Linked DNA regions of Homo sapiens: regions 1, 2, 4 and 5 are each linked to region 3. Evidence: promoter capture Hi-C in 16 types of primary human blood cells and fetal thymus (Javierre and others, 2016). All regions are on one chromosome and are shown on one strand. Each heading gives the region's core, a stretch centred on a gene start or on the middle of the fragment in contact. The rest is flanking DNA. Distances are from core to core; before and after follow the strand shown.

The links. Contacts are between HindIII fragments. The CHiCAGO score rates a contact against its expected background, and 5 or more counts as called.
Region 1: a fragment that was not itself captured here is called in contact with the fragment with the promoter of PLBD1 in region 3 in 1 of 17 cell types (neutrophils); the score reaches 10.7 in neutrophils.
Region 2: a fragment that was not itself captured here is called in contact with the fragment with the promoter of PLBD1 in region 3 in 1 of 17 cell types (neutrophils); the score reaches 6.1 in neutrophils.
Region 4: a fragment that was not itself captured here is called in contact with the fragment with the promoter of PLBD1 in region 3 in 1 of 17 cell types (M1 macrophages); the score reaches 5.9 in M1 macrophages.
Region 5: a contact is called between a fragment that was not itself captured here and the fragment with the promoter of PLBD1 in region 3, in 2 of 17 cell types (monocytes and neutrophils). The highest score is 8.5, in monocytes.

What each region holds. Positions count from the first base shown.
Region 1 is chr12:14,957,297-14,961,548 of GRCh38, reverse strand. It overlaps ARHGDIB (Rho GDP dissociation inhibitor beta), which reads left to right. Exons shown (of 6, transcript NM_001175.7): 1 at 1-12. Among named protein-coding and RNA genes, the nearest start is that of ARHGDIB, 2.2 kb to the left of the region's middle. RefSeq lists enhancers at 126-245, 1,496-1,605. The HindIII fragment of the contact is 2,551 bases long and covers 1,633-4,183 here.
Region 2 is chr12:14,268,495-14,272,206 of GRCh38, reverse strand. No RefSeq gene overlaps it. Among named protein-coding and RNA genes, the nearest start is that of ATF7IP, 95 kb to the left of the region's middle. The HindIII fragment of the contact is 5,994 bases long and covers 1-3,712 here.
Region 3 is chr12:14,565,468-14,569,568 of GRCh38, reverse strand. It overlaps PLBD1 (phospholipase B domain containing 1), which reads left to right and starts at 1,686. Exons shown (of 11, transcript NM_024829.6): 1 at 1,686-1,987. The coding sequence starts at 1,873. It overlaps PLBD1-AS1 (PLBD1 antisense RNA 1), which reads right to left and starts at 1,837. Exons shown (of 6, transcript NR_120465.1): 1 at 1,763-1,837; 2 at 1,377-1,550. RefSeq lists silencers at 1,816-1,925, 2,665-2,841 and an enhancer at 1,739-2,420. The HindIII fragment of the contact is 11,340 bases long and covers 496-4,101 here.
Region 4 is chr12:14,228,768-14,232,696 of GRCh38, reverse strand. No RefSeq gene overlaps it. Among named protein-coding and RNA genes, the nearest start is that of ATF7IP, 130 kb to the left of the region's middle. The HindIII fragment of the contact is 266 bases long and covers 2,298-2,563 here.
Region 5 is chr12:14,252,484-14,256,250 of GRCh38, reverse strand. It overlaps the pseudogene GNAI2P1. Among named protein-coding and RNA genes, the nearest start is that of ATF7IP, 110 kb to the left of the region's middle. The HindIII fragment of the contact is 4,306 bases long and covers 298-3,767 here.

The sequences.
Region 1 (4,252 bases), core at 1,659-4,158, 390 kb before region 3:
GAAGCACTGAATGTAAGTTCAAATACCTCGGGCTGGGGAGGCTTCAGGTGGGCACAGAGCAAAGTCGGAAACCTCTAGACGGGGCTACCGCCCTCGACAGTTTATTATTTTTTTAGAGGGGCAGTTCTTCTTTAAAACAAACTTTATGATAAGAAATTGCTAAGGAGGCTGCAGAGAAGGGGAAGTTAGAGGAGGGAAGGGTAGCAGTGACTCAGGGGAGGAGGCTTAAAAAAGGAGGGTACAGGGTGCGCTGCAGCCCAGGAAGTGCAATCCTGAATATTCTCAGAAGGGCTCTGAGAACACGCACCGGGAGTGCCTGGAGGGGTTTCCTGCAAAGTAGGAGCAGGCACCTGGCCAGGCTTGGAAGAAAAAGACTGTAGATCCAAAATGATACGGTCTGTGCTGGTGGATGGTGGGTTGTGCTGGGGTGGAGATATGTGGTTTCCTGTTTTTAAGCAGACAATGTAAAAAGACTGGTTGAAAGAGAAAAAAAAATGGTTCAAAGCTGTCAAATATTAAACTGTCTTCCACTAAATAATTTTCTGGTGATATAAGAGAAATGCATAATGAAATCCTCCCTTAGAGTGCAGGGGCTTTATCCCTCAAAGAGGAAGTATGGTATAGCACATTGTTATGTACTCATGAGTCATACAGTGATAGAATTTCTACCACTGACAAAGGCTGTGTATTAAATTCCTGCAGTCGGATGGGCAGATCTTTGCTGTTGTTGTCAAAAATAATAATAGGGCTGGGCGTGGTGGCTCACGCCTGCAATCCCAGCACTTTGGGAGGCCGAGGCGGGTAGATCACCTGAGGTCAGGAGTTCAAGACCGGCTTGACCAACATGGTGAAACCCCATCTCTACTGAAAATACAAAATTAGCTGGGTGTGGTGGTGCATCCCTGTAATCCCAGTTATTTGGGAGGCTGAGGCAGGAGAATCACTTGAACCCAGGAGGCAGGGGTTGCAGTGAGCCAAGATCACGCCATTGCACTCCAGCATGGGCAACAAGAGCGAAACTCTGGCTCAAAAAATAAAAATATTAATAATGATAATAGCCCTTTAGGTATGAGATAACTAACAGCAAACATGGAAAACACCAAATAACGTATTAAGAGACAGGTTTGAGAAAAATTCAAGGGGGCCCAGCTAGGACAGCTGATCAGTGGGCCTTCAAAATGTCAAGGTCTGAATTTCAGCCACCATTAGGAGAAGTGCTTTAGGTATGACCTGAAATACTTTCTTCCCTTTTAGAGGACTTCCCAGCCAGCATGTTTCATAAACATAATCTGTAATTAAACTCTAGACCTATGGTAACTTGAGGTGTGTGTCTGGCAAGCCCTGGGCAGTTCTTCATTCAGAGTGGGGAAAGGCAGACTGCTCTCACCCGGAGGGCTCATGGTCACCACTTCACATGGAGACCTAGAGCCCCTGGAGTCAGGGTTGGCCTGGCCATCTTCACTGCAGGGATGGTCAGGCACAGGAGATCAAGAGGACCATGGCACCTGTTGGTCCGGAGAGACAGGGGGCAGAGGTCCAGTCCCTAGCAGGCATCGTGAATCTTGCCATTGGCTTTGTGTTTTTTTAATTTGTAAGAATATATTCCCTCCCAAAGCAGATATAGCACAAGCTTAGTAACAAGAGCATCTTACTCTTTTGTGAGATGTGTGAAATTCTAAGAGACAGTTCTTTCTCCATCCATGCTTCACAGATGCAAAACCTGAGGACTAACTATGCTGTCACTGAACAGAAACTGGCAAGCATTTTTCAGGCCTCGACTGGAATTTGGTCCTTCCTTGCTTTGGAGAGCATGAGTTTGTCCCCTAGGGAAGTTAGCTCTGAGCAACATTAAGGTTCTGTTTTCAGTAGACACTCAGCACCACAAAGTCATTCTGAGGGAAAGATACGGGTCTGAGCTGATTTGGGAGAGCACAGTACATGACAAACATCAGCTAGCAGGAAAAGAGAAGCCCTGGGGAGTCGAAATTATGCAGATAGAAAAGGAGAACCAACATTCATTGAGTGCCTTCTATGTGTCAGGCCTGGTGATAAAAACTTTCAAATTTTGTTCCTGAGAAGAATGCAGAAGTGTTCAATAATTTGACTAAAATTACATACTGATACAAAAAGGATCAATAGCCACAATGCCTCTGAATTGCAATTCACAGGGCATGGTGGTGCGTGCCTGTGGTCCTACCTACTCAGGAGGCTCACGTGATCCTCCCGCCTCAACCTCCCGAGTAGCTGGGACTATAGGCGCGCATCACCACGCTGGCTAATTTTACCATTTTTAGTAGAGACGGGGTTTCTCCATGTTGCCAGGGCTGGTCTTGAATTCCTGGGCTCAAGCAATCCGCCTGCCTTGGCCTCCCAAAGTCCTGGGATTAAAGGCGTGAGCCACCATGCATGGCCTATTATTATTTTTTTGAGACAAGTCTCACTCTGTCACCCGAGCTGAAGTGCAGGGGCGTGAACGCAGCTCACTGCAGCCTCGACCTCCTGAGGCTCAGGTGATCTCCCACATTCTTTAGGAAGAATCACATGGAAGAAATTTTCTCCAATTCCATATTTTGAGAGTTCTTATTCCTGGTTTGTGTTATTGCTGCCCGGGATCCTGTATTCAAGGCTACACTGGCATACCCAGAGATGAGTCTCATGTTGCCCCTGAAACGTCAGCAACATTTATCTGTGCAATAAGCACATCCTGAATCATCCTGTGTTGTGTTACTCTCTGGTGTCCACAGCCAAAGAGTGAATTTTACCGCTGGTAAAAATTCACTTGGGCTTTCTTAAAGAGCCTAATAATCTTAGCACAAACGGTCATAAAAAAAATTCTCTCTCAATTCTGTCTAACTTTTCATGCTAATTTAAAACTTTTGTGAATATATTGAGATACTGAAGGCAATGGCTTCCTTAATGCACAGTTTTCTTTGAGAATTATTTAAAATAATATTTGTGAAGGTACTTGGTGGCATGACTTCACACGTTGGGCACTCAGCAAAGCTCACGGGATCTCTTTGAGTTCTCTCTCTTTGTGCATATGAATGTGGGTTAGAAAAACACACTAAAAAATGCACAGGCAAGAAATAATAAATTGTTTCTCTCACAAAGACAAATGGTAAGAAATTACGTTTCTAGTAATTTGTGCCCTTCTCTGGATTGATTACAATATTTATTGTCTCTTACAAAATAATCTTGTCTTTGGTTTTTCTCATCCAGTTTTGAAGTTTTCGTAGTCCTTCATGGGGCTGAGGTGGTAGAAAGCAGCACCGCAAAGTGGGGAGTATGGATTCCTCCATGTCACCAGGGACAGGGGCGGTGGGGAGAGGGTGGAATCCCGAACCAAGAAGGCTTCTGGTGTCCTGAGAGACAAATTTGCAATCCCGTAATACACCAAATTGCCAGGCAAGCAGCACAGCACATTCAAATCCTTGACTAGCTCTGAAATGTCAACAGTGTTTTAGAGATGGCCTGACTCTCCAGACCTGCACTAGACCCACAGCCCGATTTGGGGGAAGTCAGACATATCCTAGTCAGCAGGGAAAGTGGAGGTAGCAGGAGTTACAGAGAATGCTGATGCTCACATAGGAACTTCTCTGATAGAAATCCCCTACTTCTGGTATTTCCACTTTTCTCTCTCTCTTCCCTCTCTCTCTTTCTCCCTTCTCCCTCCTCTCTCTCTCCTCTTTCTCTCTCCCTCTTTCCCCTCTTCCTTCTCTCTCTCTCATCGCTATCTCTTCTACCTAATACATTAATATCCATGGCCTGTGTGTCTAGATGCATAATCCAGCACAATTTTGCAGATCCAGCTTTGGGCCGTGAGTTAAGTCTCTGTGGTATTTTGCTCCAGAGCCAGAGGGAATTCTCTTCATTAGCTGTGCCTGTGTTCACTGACATTTCTCATCATTCGCAGAGTGACCTCTGGCTTCAATGAAGACAGGGAGCAATAAATAAAACCTAAAATTAAATTGTTTACATGAAAGTTTTTAAAAGAAATATAATATAGTCTCATTTTAAGGTTGATTCAGTTTTTAAACAATCCTTTCAATTCCCCAGAACTTCTTATCTCTTTAATACTCCTCAAAGACAAAAATCTATTTTTAAGGAGGAAGGAGTGGGGACATAGCTCCCATCCAGGGGAAAGTATTTGGTGTGGAAACAGTTACCTAGCTTCAGTGAAGCTTTGCAACAAAGCAGACCACACTGGGGCAGGGAAGGAAGAAGAGGAAGGGAACAAATATTCACGGAACAT
Region 2 (3,712 bases), core at 184-2,683, 300 kb after region 3:
TCCCCTCAGGTGGGACAGCTCCCACAGGTTCCCAGCATGACTGACCCTCGGTTGCCCCCATTGGTAACGTAATGGTCTAGGCTTCCCTCACTTCCCTGTCTTACTGCCCCTTTCCCCTGTCAGTGCTTCCTATGATCACCACTCAAACTACTTACATTTAAACCTTTTGCTTAGGGTTGGCTCCTAAAAGAATCTGGCAGAAGACAGCCTAATTATGGGGAAAGCACTCCTGCCCAAAATAATCGGCTAAATTTCTCCATTTTTTCAAGTTTCAAATTCTATCCATTAGGGGTGCATATGGGGGGCCAGGCATGGTGGCTCAAACCTATAATCCCAGTACTTTGGGAGGTTGAGGCAGGTGGATTTCTTGAGCCCAGGAGTTCGAGACCAGTCTAGGTGACATAGTGAGACCTCATCTCTGCAAAAAATACAAAAACTTGCCAGGTGTGGTGGTGCATTCCTGTAGTACCAGCTACTAAGCGGCTGAGGTGGGAAGATCGCTTGAGCCTAGGAGGTCAAGGCTGCAGTGAGCTGTGTTCATGCCACCGCACTCTGGCCTAGGTGACAAAGTGAGACCCTGTTTAAAAAAAAAAAGGGATGCATACGTGGTGTCAGGTGTCAATTTGGGAAATTCAGATACTCCTTGCAGGGTTATGAAGCAACCATCATTTTTTCCACCATATCTTAGGGAAAATGGTTGGTGACATTGCTTTCTTCTTATTACTATTTAATCTCACCCAAAATAATTGGCTAAAATTATTGGCTAAAATAATTGTCTGCTCAAAAGAATCATTAGCCATCATAAAGTAAGTAAATTCTCACTGCCTCATTCTGGGGCAGGCTCATGTCTGAAGGAGTGTGATCTCAAGTGTACATCTGCAATTTGGAATCGAAAGACTGCAATTTGAAGTTGAAATACAAATGGGCAGTGGCTGAACCATAGATAACAACAGAACTCTGACCCATGAAGGGGATCAGAACATGTTGCCCCCAAATACGCTGCTTTAGCATATTGATTATTTTGAACTGAAGGCAATTGAAAAACAGCAAATGGCCTCTTGACCTTCACTTTTCTTTTTTTTTCTTTTTCTTTTTTTTTTTTTTCGAGATGGAGTCTCACTCTGTCTCCCAGGGTGGAGTACAGTGGTGCCATCTCTGCAAGCTCCGCCTCCCAGGTTCACGCCATTCTCCTGCCTCAGCCTCCTGAGTAGCTGGGACTACAGGCACCGGCCACCATGCCTGGCTAATTTTTTGTATTTTTAGTAGAGACACAGTTTCACTGTGTTAGCCAGGATGGCCTCGATCTCCTGACCTCGTGATCTGCCTGCCTTGGCCTCCCAAACTGCTGGGATTACAGGTGTGAGCCACCACACCTGGCCTGACATACATTTCCCATGAGAAAGGTGCTCTCCCATAACCAGAAAGAAAACATTCTTATCAATGGAAATGGAGAATTGACACTGATTGTTTGTCTGCACAAACAAACCTTATTAATATAGCCCTTATCTTCCATTAGTTTTCCTCATATACTTCCTAGGTACTTTCCAAAAACTTACCACCTGTAGAAGCCCAAACCCCTGTCCTTTATCTACCTATGTCTTCACAATTTATTGCCTTTTGTTAAAATGGTATATAAACCTCTCTATCCACATGTTTTGAGGTTTTCACATCTTCTCTGTGAAGCCCTCCATGCCATATAAAAACATTAACACCAAATGAAATTGTATATGTTTTTCCTGTTGTAATATTTGTCAGTTTAATTTGCAGGCCCCAGGTACCTAATAACATAAGAGGGTAAAGTTCTTCCTTCCTTCATTGACAACATGCAGCAACCTATCCAGGAAACTAATCACTTATTTTCAATAGCCAACCAGTGAGACAGTCTGCTGTAAGTCAGATTTGTTGGGAGTCACAGATCTTTAGTGACAGTCTAAGAGGCCAAACAATAACAGTTGTTTCCTGTGACAACAAGCCAATATGGCCAGGACTTGATTAATAACTGACCGCTTTTCTAATTTTTGTCCCTGCTTCCAAATTAGGACCAATCAGAGGAAACCGGATGGGTGCAGTGGCTCATGCCTGTAATCCCAGCACTTTGGGAGGCTGAGGCAGGTGGATCACCTGAGGTCAGGAGTTTGAGACCAGCCTGGCCAATATGGTGAAACCCAGTCTCTACTAAAAAAAAATACAAAAATTAGCTGGGCATGGTGGCGCACGCCTGTAGTCCCAGCTACTCAGGAGGCTGAAGCAGGAGAATCGCCTGAACCCAGGAAGCAGAGGTTGCAGTGAGCCAAGATTGCGCCACTGTACTCCAGCCTGAGGACAGAGTGAGACTCTGTCTCAAAAAAAAAAAAAAAAAAAAAAAAATCAGAGAAAGCCAAATGTGTACCCCTAACCAATCACATAGGAATTCCTGTTTCTAGTTTGCCTGCTTACAGCTTCCTCATGCCAACAGCCTCTAACTGGGGCATAGTTGAAGCCTTTCCTTTTTCCTACAATAAAACTTTCCTACTCCTCTGCCTGCCTTGGAGTGTCTGCCAAAATACAAGTGACAGTGGTTGACTCCCTAGCTATAGCAATCTCTGAATAAATAGAATTTGCTTGTTCTCATTTGGTTTGTCTTAGTTTTTTTCCACATTCTGTCCACCCTTGTAACTTTCTATTTGGGGGACTTGTATTTGATATTATGCCTTATTCTCTCCATCCACTTTGTCCTAAAGTGGATGACATACTATTTTAGAGTTCCAATTGTAAAAATGCCTTTTATCCCTGGATAAGATTGCATTTTGATCCTTTTAATCTCAATGAGCCAGAAGTTTTAGGGCACCAAGAGAAAAAGTCTGGAGGGTTTCATATGTCCTTTTCCCCACTATCAAATGCAATCACAAAACAGTATTTCAATATTATCAGTACTGCTTTTGTTCCTATCCCTTATCTGAAGTCGAGAATCTTCAATTGTTTAAAGTTTCCTAGTTAAAGTTTCCTAGTACCTTCATATAGCACTGCTTGCTAGGTGTTTGAGGACAGGAGACTCTTGACTGCCTACAGGTTTACCATTGAGTCTCTACAGAGACTCTTCTTGGGAAGGCGAGTGAGTGTCTTGGCCTTTTTAGGGTCCATGTGACAGAGTGTAACTTTCTTACGACTTATCAGACTGGTTATTTGTTTGTTCTTGCGGACCTTGAATATCTGAGATAGGTCTCAGTCAATTTAGCAAGTTTATTTTGCCAAAGTTAAGGATGTGCACCTGTGACACAGCCTCAGGAAGTCCTGATGACATGTGCCCAAGGTGGGAAGAATACAGCTTGTTTTTCTTTTTCTTTTTTTCTTTTTTGAGACAGAGTTTCACTCTTTCGCCCAGGCTGGAGTGCAGTGGCTGATCTAGGCTCACTGCAATCTCCACCTTCTGGTTTCAAGCGATTCTCCTGCCTCAGCCTCCCAAGTAACTGGGATTGCAGACGCCTGCCACCACACCTGGCTAATTTTGTATTTTTAGCAGAGATGGGGTTTCACCATGATGGCCAGACTGGTCTCGAACCCCTGACCTTGTGATCCGTCCGCCTAGGCCTCCCAAAGTGCTGGGATACAGGCGTGAGCCACCGCTCCCAGCCCACAGCTTGGTTTATACATTTTGGGGAGACATGAAACATCAATCAACATATGTAGGATGAACATTGGTTCAGTCTGGAAAGGTGGGATGACTTGAAGCAAA
Region 3 (4,101 bases), core at 437-2,936:
CAACTTTTACAATGTCCTCGATGTCTTCATTTTAATTTTTCTTCATTTAAATTTTCTAACGAAGGAAAATGTGCAACTTTTACAATGTCCTCGATGTCTTCGTTTTAATTTTTCTTCATTTTAATTTTCTAACTTGAAGGAAAATGTGCAACTTTTACAATGTCCTCGATGTCTTCATTCATTAAATGCCATTAAACATAATTGTGACTTTAATTTTAATTAAATAAAAATGAGTTGGAGTCTCCCTGTGTGGCACAGGCTTGTCTTGAACTTTTGGGCTCCGGTGATCCTCCCACCTTGGCCTCCCAAAGTGTTGGGATTACAGGCATGAGCCATGGTGCCTGGACCACAAAATTGTGACTTGTGTTTCACAATTTGCACAGAGATTTGATGAACTTTTAGGTTCTTTATCTTTTCTAACAATTACATTTTCCCCGTTATGAAAGGTACTGCTTATTCTCTCTTCTCATCTCTCCTTGACACCTAGGTTAAGCTTAGAAGAAAGGCCAAGAGGAAGAGTGGGGTGCTGAGGTTCCCATCTGAGAGGTGGCTTGTTCCCTCCTTCCCCCTCTCCCACTGCACCTTAAACATAGCTCTAACACAGTAGAATGGCAAGTTCTGTGTACTTGTTTATCTATATGGCTTAGTTCTTTTTTAAAAAAATTATTATTGTTATTATTATTATTTTTTTTTGAGACGAATCTCGCTCTGTCGCCCAGGCTGGAGTAGAGTGGCGCGATCTCGGCTCACTGCAAGCTCCGCCTCCCGGGTTTACGCCATTCTCCTGCGTCAGCCTCCCAAGTAGCTGGACTACAGGCGCCCGCCACCGTGTCCGACTAATTTTTTGTATTTTTAGTAGAGACGGGGTTTCACCGTGTTAGCCAGGATGGCCTCGATATCCTGACCTCGTGATCTGCCCGCCTCGGCCTCCCAAAGTGCTGGGATTACAGGCGTGAGCCACGGCGCCCGGCTGGCTTAGTTCTTTTTGTCTGTGGTGAGGCATGCTCTTAGCTGTCTTTATATCACTGGTATCTGGAGTATAAGATGGGCCCAGCCAATGCTGAGTGAATGAATGAAATGCCTTTTGCCTACTTCACAATGTCACCTAGGGCACCCGGTGCCAACTTCACAATATCACCCAAGGCATAACTTTTGACTACTTCACAATGTCACTTTTAACTGACCCCACACAGAAATGGGGACTCCACAGAAACGTAGGAGTGTGTCTAGTGTCAGCCCCGTCTGAATCACTCTCCTGTGGTGGCTCCAGCCAACGAAGAGGAAGCAAAAAGGATAAAAAATCTGAGCTACAGCGCATGGATTTAGGTTAAACAGCCTGGGAATGAGGGGTACGCTAATCGCTGAGGAAAACGCACCTGTGGAGGCCTCTCCAGAAACAGCAGAGGATCCGAGCTGCGTGTAGGCAGGGCGCGCATGTCACCCTGGCCCGGGCGCCTGGTCCGCTGCTGGAGATAAATGGTCGACCCCGGAGGGAGAGGCTAGTAGGGGTGTTGATGTGAACTGATTCGCCCAAGCCTTGGGCCGCAAAACTGCGAAAGAAAGCGGCAGGCAGCCTCTGCATTTCCCAGAAGTGCAGCTGGGGAACTTTCCCAGACCGGCCCAGGGGTTGCTAGAGGGTCAGACGTAAAGGATCCGCCTTTCCTAGGCGGGGTGGGCCCCAGGCCACCACGTGAAGCGTCCTCGCCCCTCAGAGCCCGGAGCAGGCCGGGCTCAAGAAAGAGGAAAGTTGAGGACGCCCCACCTCGGAGAGGCGGCGCCCCTGAGTAGGCCAGGAGCCTCTCTTGCAACTTCTGCCACCGCGGGCCACCGCGGCCGCCTGATCCCGCAGAGGAAGGTCGCGGCCGTGGAGCGATGACCCGCGGCGGTCCGGGCGGGCGCCCGGGGCTGCCACAGCCGCCACCGCTTCTGCTGCTGCTGCTGCTGCTGCCGCTGTTGTTAGTCACCGCGGAGCCGCCGAAACCTGCAGGTGAGCAGAGCGCGCCCTGGGCGGGGGGCGCCCGGGGAGGCTCCTAGGAGCCTGTTAGCGCCCGTGCCCCGCGTCCGGCCGAGTTGACGTCCAGCGGGCGTCTGGTTCCTGGGTGAACTCAGAGAAACGCGCCTCCGGCCGGCGGTCTCGCTCCAGCCCTGCGGCTGCGCAGCGAGGGCACTTGAGAAGGGCATGGCGAGTGCGTCTGCCAACTTTACAAGTTTTGGCCCGAATTCTTGGCCAACAAATCGGTTCGCTCCTGCGCCGATTCTTGGCCCACAGAGCCTGGGCTGGTCTTAAAAACTCCAGCCAATGGGCATCTAAATATATTTATCCAGATTGTAGGGAGGTATGGTTCCGGCTTGCCATTTGTTTTGTGTTTTAAAAATTTACATTGACTTTGGCTTAAAATCACGATTGCACGATTGTCAGTTTGATACGTGCCTGGCAGTGGGCTTAAGGGCCTTTTGGTTTTGTTGTTGTTGTTGAGACAGAGTCGCTCTCTGTGGGCGACGCTGGAGTGCAATGGTGTGATCTCGGCTCACTGCAACTTCCGCCTCCCGGGTTCAAGCGATTCTCCTCCCTCAGCTTCCCAAGTAGCTGGGATTACAGGCGTCAGCCACCATGCCCAGCTAATTTGTGCATTATTAGTAGAGACGAGGTTTCACCATGTTGGACAGGCTGGTCTCGAACGCCTGACTCGGGCGATCCGCCTGCCTCGGCCTCCCAAAGTGCTGGGATTACAGGCATGAGCCACCGCGCCCGGCAGTTTTTTTTTTTTTTTTTTAATATATAATCCTAAATAGGATTATATTCCCCATTCTGCAGATGAGAAAAGTGAGATTGATCAGAAGTAATTCGCATAAAGATAACACAGCAAATAAGACAGAGTTAGGGGATGCCAGAGGGCATTTTCTTAACTACTTCCCTCTTGGAAAAACAGGTTTTATCTCTACAGGTATTCATGCAAATCTACATCCTTTGCCAAAATTAAATTAAATTAAATTAAAAAGCCTTGGATTTATGATTTCCGTTCCTAAGGAGGTGAAGATTATGAACTGTAACTAAGGGACTTGAAAGAATTCTAAAGTAATAATAAGAGAATTAATTTTGTCTTATTTCATAATCCCCTTTTCTGTGCTGACCTTGTACAAGAGTAGGGTGGGGCTTGGGGGAGGATGCCCCTTCCTAAATATGTGTACTGATTCTTATTACACTACCTTCCATCATCAAGAGCCTTCGTTTTTGAGACTTGCTTAGTTATCACTCTTCAATCTTAAATCTTTCCAGTCTGTGGGATCAGATGTACCCACAGGCTCCTGACTCGTGATTTTCTGTGTTCTTTGCCTAAACTATGGAGGTGGCCTTGGTGTCTACTTCTAGTCTAGGGAGACAGCTCATTCAGAGGTACCTGGGGGAGGCTGGGGAGGGTCCCAAAAGTGGAGGTAGCTTTTGTGTTTGGAATGCTGGCTAAAATCTTTATTCCTTTTCTGTTTTTTTGGACGAGTGAGATTAAGTGTTTTTGTAGGTGGAGGGGGCAGCCTGAGGAGTGAGACAGGCGTTGTTTTTCTGAAGATGGAGCACTATTTATTCAAGAAGGTACCACCTTGTAAGAAACTGCATCTTAAACAGTTCCTCCAACAGGAAGCTGACTCCATGCTTGGAGGTTCTGGAGCCAAGGCAGAAAGTAAGGACATTTCTGAGATGAAGTGATCCTGACAGCACCATGCCCAGCAATCTGGAAAGGATTCTTACTTACCTAGGTGTTAAGGACATCTGGTGATGCCACACTATTTCAGCAGATGAGATCTCTGTTTCCTTTGTCCTACCCACATTAATCTGTTTTCCCTTGAGGCTTTTTGGGTCTTTGTCTTTACCCTTCTACTAGCCTGCGAACAACCAAAGAGTAAAGAACTGGGACTTGCTACCTCTCACTTGTCATGTGTTCTCTGAAGTACCCAGCTCAGTACCCTGAACTTAGTAGGAATTCAGTAAACACTAAAGGGATTGCATGTCCATCCCCTTGGAATGGATTTTATATCCACTCATATGCATCTATCTATCCAAAAACAACTTCTTCAATTTTTAATTTTACTTTTTTTTTTTTTTACTAT
Region 4 (3,929 bases), core at 1,181-3,680, 340 kb after region 3:
TCTCTATTATTGTACACCTTGAAGAGAAGATTAATTAAGTCCTGTTGTGGGGTTTGAGGGCCGGAATCTAATTTTTGGAGCTTTTTGTAACGTCGGGAGTGGACTGGGTAATAAAATGCATTTTGAGAATAAGACAGCCTTCTGGGCCCTGTGGGTCTAGGGTGGTAAAGCGTTTAAAGGTTGTTGCCAAACGGGCCATGAACTGGGCTGGGTTTTTATATTTGATGAAAAAGAGTCTAAACGCTAACTGATTTGGGAGAGGTCAGATGAAGAAAAAGGAGCATTAACCTGGATTATGCCTTCAGATCCAGCCACCTCTCTAAGAGGAAATTGTTGGGCAGGTGGGGGAGGGCTAGTCGTGGAACAAAAGTGTAAGCCAGACTGGGTGTGAGGAGGGGAGGTGATAGAAGGATTATAGGGTGGGGGAGCGGAGGCTGAGGAAGAATTGGGACCTGGCTCAGCCTGGGGAGGAGGGGAGAGGTCAGATGGGTCTGTAGAAAAGGAGGATTCAAAGGACTCAGAGCTTGGGGTGGAGACTGAAGGACCAGACAGGAGAGAAAGAAGAAAGATTTGGGACGAGTTGCATTGGGAGCAGAGACTAGGAAGTGACTGATGTGTAAAGAATGCCTGGATGTCAGGCACCTCAGACCATTTGCCCATTTTATGACAAAAATTATCTAGATCTTGTAGGATGGACAAATCAAAAGTGCCATTCTCTGGCCACTTGGAACTATTGTCGAGTTTGTATTGGGGCCAAGCGGTATTACAGAAGAAAATAAGACGTTTAGGTTTTAGGTCAGATGTTAGTCGAAGGGGTTTTAGGTTTTTAAGAACACAGGCTAAGGGGGAAGAGGGAGGAATGGATGGTAGAAGGTTGCCCATAGTGGAGAAGGTAAGTTTAAAGAGGAAGGTAGAGACACGGAGAAATGGAGGTGGGCAGATACCAGGCTTCCAGTATGCGTCCCTGACTGAGTCCTGGGCTGTAATGTGGGTGAGCAGCCAAAGCAGGTGTCCCTGCAATTGACCTGCCACCAAGGGAGTGTGGGTGAATGATGAAGGCAGGCGTCCCCGCTATGATCAAACACCAAGGGAAGACTGTCTTCCCAAATCTGTGACGGACATTGGAGTTTTTGAGTTCACAGATAAAATGTGTCTCCTTTGTCTCTACTAGAAAGGAAAAGAACTGGAATTGGAAGGATAGGGAGACTGAAGGGTAGCAAGAGAGGCTGGAGAAGAGAGTGAAGAGACCGCTTCCTGATTTGAAATTGGTGAGATGTTCCTTGGGCTGATCTGATGACACCTCCAAAGGAACACAATGATTCTCTAGTAACAGACTTGAAGAAAAGGAAATCAATGAAATGCCTGAAAAGAAATTCAAAATAATGATCTTAAGGTAACTCAGTGAGATACAAAAGAATACAGATAGACAATTTAACAAAATTAGGAGAGAAATTCACGATCTGAATGAGAAATTCAACAAATAAATAGATATCAAAAAAAGAAACCAAACAGAAAATTTGGAGCTGAAGAATTTAACAAATAAAAAATATGGTTGAGAGCTTCAACAATAGAGTAGATCAAGCAGAAGAAAGAATTTCTGAAACTCTTTTGAAAGAATTCAAAAAGACTTTTGAAATAACCCAGTCAGACCACCAAAAATAAAAAGTTAAAAAGAAAAATCTGGGCACATGGGCTCATGCCTGTAATTTTAGTTACTTGAGAGGCTGATGTGGGAGAATTGCTTGAGCCTAGGAATTTGAGACCAGCATGGGCAGCAAAGTCAGACCCCATCTCTGGGGGAAAAAGATTAGCCAGGTGTGGTTGCATGCATCTGCAGTCCCAGCTACTTGCGAGGCTAAGGTGGAAGGATCATTGTGCCCAGGAGTTTGAGGCTGCAGTAAACTATAATCATACACTGCACTCCAGCCTGGGTAGCAGAGACTCTGTCTTTAAAACAAAGAAAAGAATGAAGAAAGCAGCCTAAGGGACTTGTGAGGCATGATTAAGTGAACATATATTTACACTATGGATGTTTAAGGAGAAATGGGAAAAGATATAGAAAAACCCATTTAATGAAATAACAGCTGAAAACTCCCCAAATCTTAGGAGAGATATAGATGTTAAATCCAGGAAGCTCAAAGTTTCCCAAATAGATTCAACCCAAAAAGGTCCCCTTCAAGTCACATTATAGTAAAACTGTCAAAAAGACAAATAATTCTAAAAACAGCAAGACAAAAGTGTTATTGCACACAAGGAAATCCCCATTAGAGAAACAGCAGATTCCTTGGCAGAAAGCTTACAAGCCAGGAGAGAATAGGATGACATATTCAAAGTGGTGAAAGAACAAAACTGCCAGCAAAGAATACTATACCCACCAAAGTTATCCTTCAGAATGAAGGAGAAATAAAGACTTTCCCAGGTGTATTTGGCCGTTCTTGCATTGCTACAAAGAAGTACCTGAGATTGGGTAATTTATAAAAGGAGAGGTTTTATGGGCTAATGGTTCTACAGGCTGTACAGGAAGCATAGTGGCATCTTGCTTCTGGGGAGGCCTCAGGAAGCTTCCAATCATGGCAGAAAGCAAAGAAGGAGCAGGCACATTACAAGGAGAAAGCAGGAGCAAGAGAAGGTGGGGAAGTGCCATATACTTTTAAGGGGCCAGATCTCATGAGAACTTACTGCTGGCTGGGTGTGGTGGCTCATGCCTGTAATCCCAGCACTTTGGGAAGCTGAGGTGGGTGGATCACAAGGTCAGGAGATCGAGACCATCCTGGCTAACACGGTGAAACCCCATCTCTACTAAAAAAATACAAAAAAAAAAATTAGCTGGGTGTGGTGGCAGGCCCCTGTAGTCCCAGCTACTTGGGAGGCTGAGGCAGGAGAATGGCGTGAACCCAGGAGGCGGAGCTTGCAGTGAGCCAAGATCACGCCACTGCACTCCAGCCTGGGCGACTGAGCAAGACATCGTCTCAAAAAAAAAAAAAAAAAAAAAGAGAACTCACTACTGAGGACAACACCAAGGGGATAGTGATAAACTATTCATGATAAATTTGCCTTTATGATCCAGTCACCTTTCACCAGGCCCCACCTCTAACATGGGATTACAAGTCAACATGAGATTTGGGCAGGGACACACATTTAAACTACATCACCAGACAAGCAAAAGCTGAAGGAATTGATTATCACTAGACTAGCCTTATAAGAAATGCTTAAGAAAGTCCTACGTTTGGAGGAAAAGGATGATTACTGCCATCATGAAATCACGTGAAAGTATAAAACTCACAGGTAGAACAGTTATCCAAATGAGAAAGAGAAAGGAATCAAACCTCATCACTACAGAAAACCACCAAATCACAAAGATAAACAATAAGAGAGGAAGAAAGGAAGAAAAGAAATCTAAAACAACCAGAAAACAATTAACAAAATGTCAGGAGTTTTTTTCTTACTTATCAATAATCTTGAACGAAAAACAAAATCTTGAATGTAAACATTAAATCCCCAATTAGAAAGATATAGGCTGGCTGAATAGATAAAAAAATATCAAGACTCAACTATATACTGCTTACAAGAAACTCACTTCACCTACAAAGACACACATAGACTGAAAGTGAAGGGATGAAAAAAGATATTCCATGCAAGCAGAAACCAAAAATAAACAAGAGCAGCTATGCTTGTATCAGACTTAAACAGACTTCAAGTCAAAAGCTATAAAAAGATACAGAGAAGGTAATTATATAATAATAAAGGGATCAATTCAGTGAGAGGATATAACAATTCTAAATAAATATGTACTCAACACTGGAGCACTCAGATATATAAAGCAAATATCATTAGATTTAGGGGGAGAGATAGATATCAATACAATAATAGTTGAGGACTTAAATGCCCCACTGTCAGCATTGGGCAGATTATCTAGACAGATAATCAAC
Region 5 (3,767 bases), core at 1,201-3,700, 310 kb after region 3:
AAAAGGACGTGAATTCATCAGTTGAATTTGTTTTTGTGAGATTTAAGAGTCATCAGTTATTGTGGGAAGGCACACAGTATATGCTACACGGGATTTTCCAAAATGTTCAGTATCAAAGGGGATTCAAGAAGGGTAGAGGTCAAGCCATCCAAACTGGCCCTCTGATTCTTAGAGATGCTTTTATTTTAGGATCTTTGCATTTTTCACTCCACCTTGAAATCTCCACCCTCCCCCCCCACCCCTTATTCCTCTCTCCTTTCACTGTCCTCTGAGTTCCTCCTACCCTCTGGTCAAGCTTTGCCTTCCTCAGAGGCCTTCCTGAATGCTTGGTCCAAAGTAAATTCCTTATACCTTCTTATCATCTTACATGGCAACCTCTTTTTTTCTGTTGTAGCACCACTGTAACTTACAATTATATATATTTGTTTTCTTGTACATTGGCTCTCCCCCTTCACCCGCAACTAGCTTTCTAAGTACCCTTGGGCCGTGTCTGTCTGATCAAAACTGTATAACAAGCATAGGACCTGGCAAAATGTTAGCAAGGAGCAAATATTTGTTGAACAGATTAATTAAATTCAAATATTATTTCTCTGGTCCCAGTCCACTACTTTCTGGCTTCTTCTTTTATACCAGTTAGTTCTTTTACGATTCAGTCTGTTTTCTTACTCTTGTGAACTTTCAGGAACAACTGATTTATTTCAGGGTTCCTCTTTACATAATGAGAGCTACTGAGTAGAATAGAATCTTCACAGCTTCTGGGGGGTACCAGAAAGATGCCCAGAAAGGGGGTACCATGGCCATTACTGGCACCTCAGACAAGGGCAGGCTTCAAACAGGGAGGCCTGTGGCAACCCCTCCCCTATGTCTGAAGCTGAGGGGATGGGGGAGCTAAGAACAAAGGAAAGAAGAGAAAAGTGTCCAGGGAACAGGTGGGGACCATGGTCTTCTTGCCCCATCTTCCTCAGGGGTTGGGGGGTACAGAGTTGGTGGTGGCCCATCCTGCTAGGTCCCACTGCCCCTCAGAAGAGGCCCCAGTCCTTCAGGTTGTTCTTGATGATGACGTCGGTGATGGCATCAAACACGAACTACGTTCTTGGTATCGGTGGCGCATGTGAAGTGTGTGTAGATCTCCTTGGTGTCTTTGTGCTTATTCAGGTCCTCAGACTTACTCTGGTTGTAGCTGGCTGCCTCATCATACTTGTTGGACCCTGTGTACTCAGGGAAGCAGATGGTCAGGGGCTGTGTGTGATCTTCTCCTCCAACAGCTCCTTCTTGTTGAGGAAGTAGATGATGGACGTGTTTGTGAACCACTTGTTGCAGATGCTGTCAAACAGCTTTTATCCCCTAAGAAAAGACACACTAGTCTTATAATTCTTACCGTCTGTGTTTTCTCATCTGTAGTACTTGATTTTACTCTGAGATGGAATTCAACTTGGGTTTTGGTTTCTGAGTCTGGAGTCATGCACATGGTTTTCCCCCTTCCATCTTTATCAAAACTGTCCCTATCACCAGAGGGAAAGGATTTACCAATTCCTCCTTTAAAAGAGTATCCTGGCGGCCAGGCCTGGTGGATCATGCCTGTAATTCCAGCACTTTGGGAGGCCGAGGTGGGTGGATCACCCGAAGGTCAGGAGTTCGAGACCAGCCTGGCCAACATGGAGAAACCCTCATCTCTACTAAAAATACAAAAATTAGCCAGGGGTGGTGACGGGCGCCTGTAATCTCAGCTACTCGGGAGGCTGAGACAGGAGAATTGCTTGAACCCGGGAGGTAGAGGTTGCAGTGAGCTGAGATCATGCCATTGCACTCCAGCCTGGGCAACAAGATTGAAACTTCGTGTCACACACACACACACACACACACACACAACGGGCATGGTGGCTCACGCCTGTAATCCCAGCACTTTGAGAGGCCAAGGTGGGCCGATCATGAGGTCAGGAGATTGAGACCATCCTGGCTAACACAGTGAAACCTCACCTCTACTAAAAATACAAAAACTTAGCTGGGTGTGGTGGCATGCACCTGTAGTCCCAGCTACTAGGAGGCTGACGCAGGAGAATTGCTTGAACCCAAGAGGTGGAGGTTGCGGTGAGCCGAGATCGCGCCACTGCACTCCACACTCCAGCCTGGGTGACAGAGCGAGACTCTGTCCCAAAAAAAAAAAAAAAAAAAAAATGGATCCTAGCTGGGCGAGGTGGCTCACGCCTGTAATCCCAGCACTTTGGGAGGCTGAGGTGGGTGGATCGCTTGAGGTCAGGAGTTTGAGACCAGCCTGGCCAACATGGCAAAACCCCGTCTCTACTAAAAATATAAAAATTAGCTGGGCATGGTGGTGGGTGCCTGTAATCTGAGCTACTAGGGAGGGGATACAGGAGAATCGCTTGAACCCGGCAGGCAGAGGTTGCACTAAGCTGGGATCGTGCCACTGCAGTCCAGCCTGGGTGACAGAGCAAGACTCAGTCTCAAAAAAAAAAAAAAAGATTCTACTCCTGGCCAGGGACTCATCCAAGCAGAAGTCTAATGCCACAGAATTTCAAGTAGGCAATTTGCATCTCTGAAAACCTTCAGATGAGAGAGAGAGAGAGGGGCCACCAATTCACTGGATTTCAGCCCAACACAAGAGTAATGTCTTTGGGGCTTTTTTTTTTTTTGAGACAGGGTCTCACTCTGTCACTGATGCTAGCTAGAGTGCAGTGGCCTGATCCTGGCTCCCTGCAGCCTTGACTTCTGGGCTCAAGTGATCCTCTCACCTCAGCCTCCAGAGTAGCTGGGACTATAGGCATGCACCATCACACTTGGTTATTTTTTTCTATTTTTCTTTTTTTTTTTGAGACAGAGTCTCACTTTGTTGCCCAGGCTGGAGTGCAGTGGTGCAATCTCTGGTCACTGTAACCTCCACCTCCCTGGTTCAAGCGATTCTCCTGCCTCAGACTCCCTAGTAGCTGGGATTACAGGTGCCTACCACCAAGCCTGGCTAATTTTTGTATGTTTAGTAGAGATGGGCTTTCGCCATGTTGACCAGGCTGGTCTTGAACTCCTGACCTCAAATGATCCACCCGCCTGGGCCTCCCAAAGTGCTGGGATTACAGGCATGAGCCACCATGCCTGGCCTATTTATTTTTTTATTTTTTCACAGAGACAGGGTCTCTCTGTGTTGCTCTGGCTGCCCTCAAACTCCTGGCTTCAAGTGACTCCTACCTCTGCCTCCCAGTGAGGTGGGATCACAGGCATGAGCCACTGTGCCCTGCCTGGAGCATTTCTTCACCTAAGCAAATTAGCTGTTCTAAAAGCTGTGCTAGGTGTTGGAGGACATTTGAAGCACAGCTTTATTGTGTATTTATTGCAAGGTTTTGATTGACTCGTTGTGAAACTGGTAGGATTTCCCTAACTGACTACAAAATTCTGTGACTTTCACTTCTTTTTTTTTTTTTTTTTTTTTTTGGGATGGAGTTTCGCTCCTGTTGCCCAGGCTGGAGTGCAATGGCACGATCTCAGCTCACCACAACCTCCGCCTCTGGCGTTCAAGAGATTCTCCTGCCTCAGCCTCCCGAGTAGCTGGGATTACAGGCATGCGTCACCACACCCGGCTAATTTGTGTTTTTAGTAGAGACAGTTTCTCCATGTTGGCCAGGCTAGTCTCGAACTCCTAACCTCAGGTGATCTGCCCACCTCAGCCTCCCAAAGTGCTGGGATTACAGGCGTGAGCCACCACGCCCGGCTGACTTTCACTTCTTTTAACTGGTTCAGGGTAATCAATAGTTGAGAGA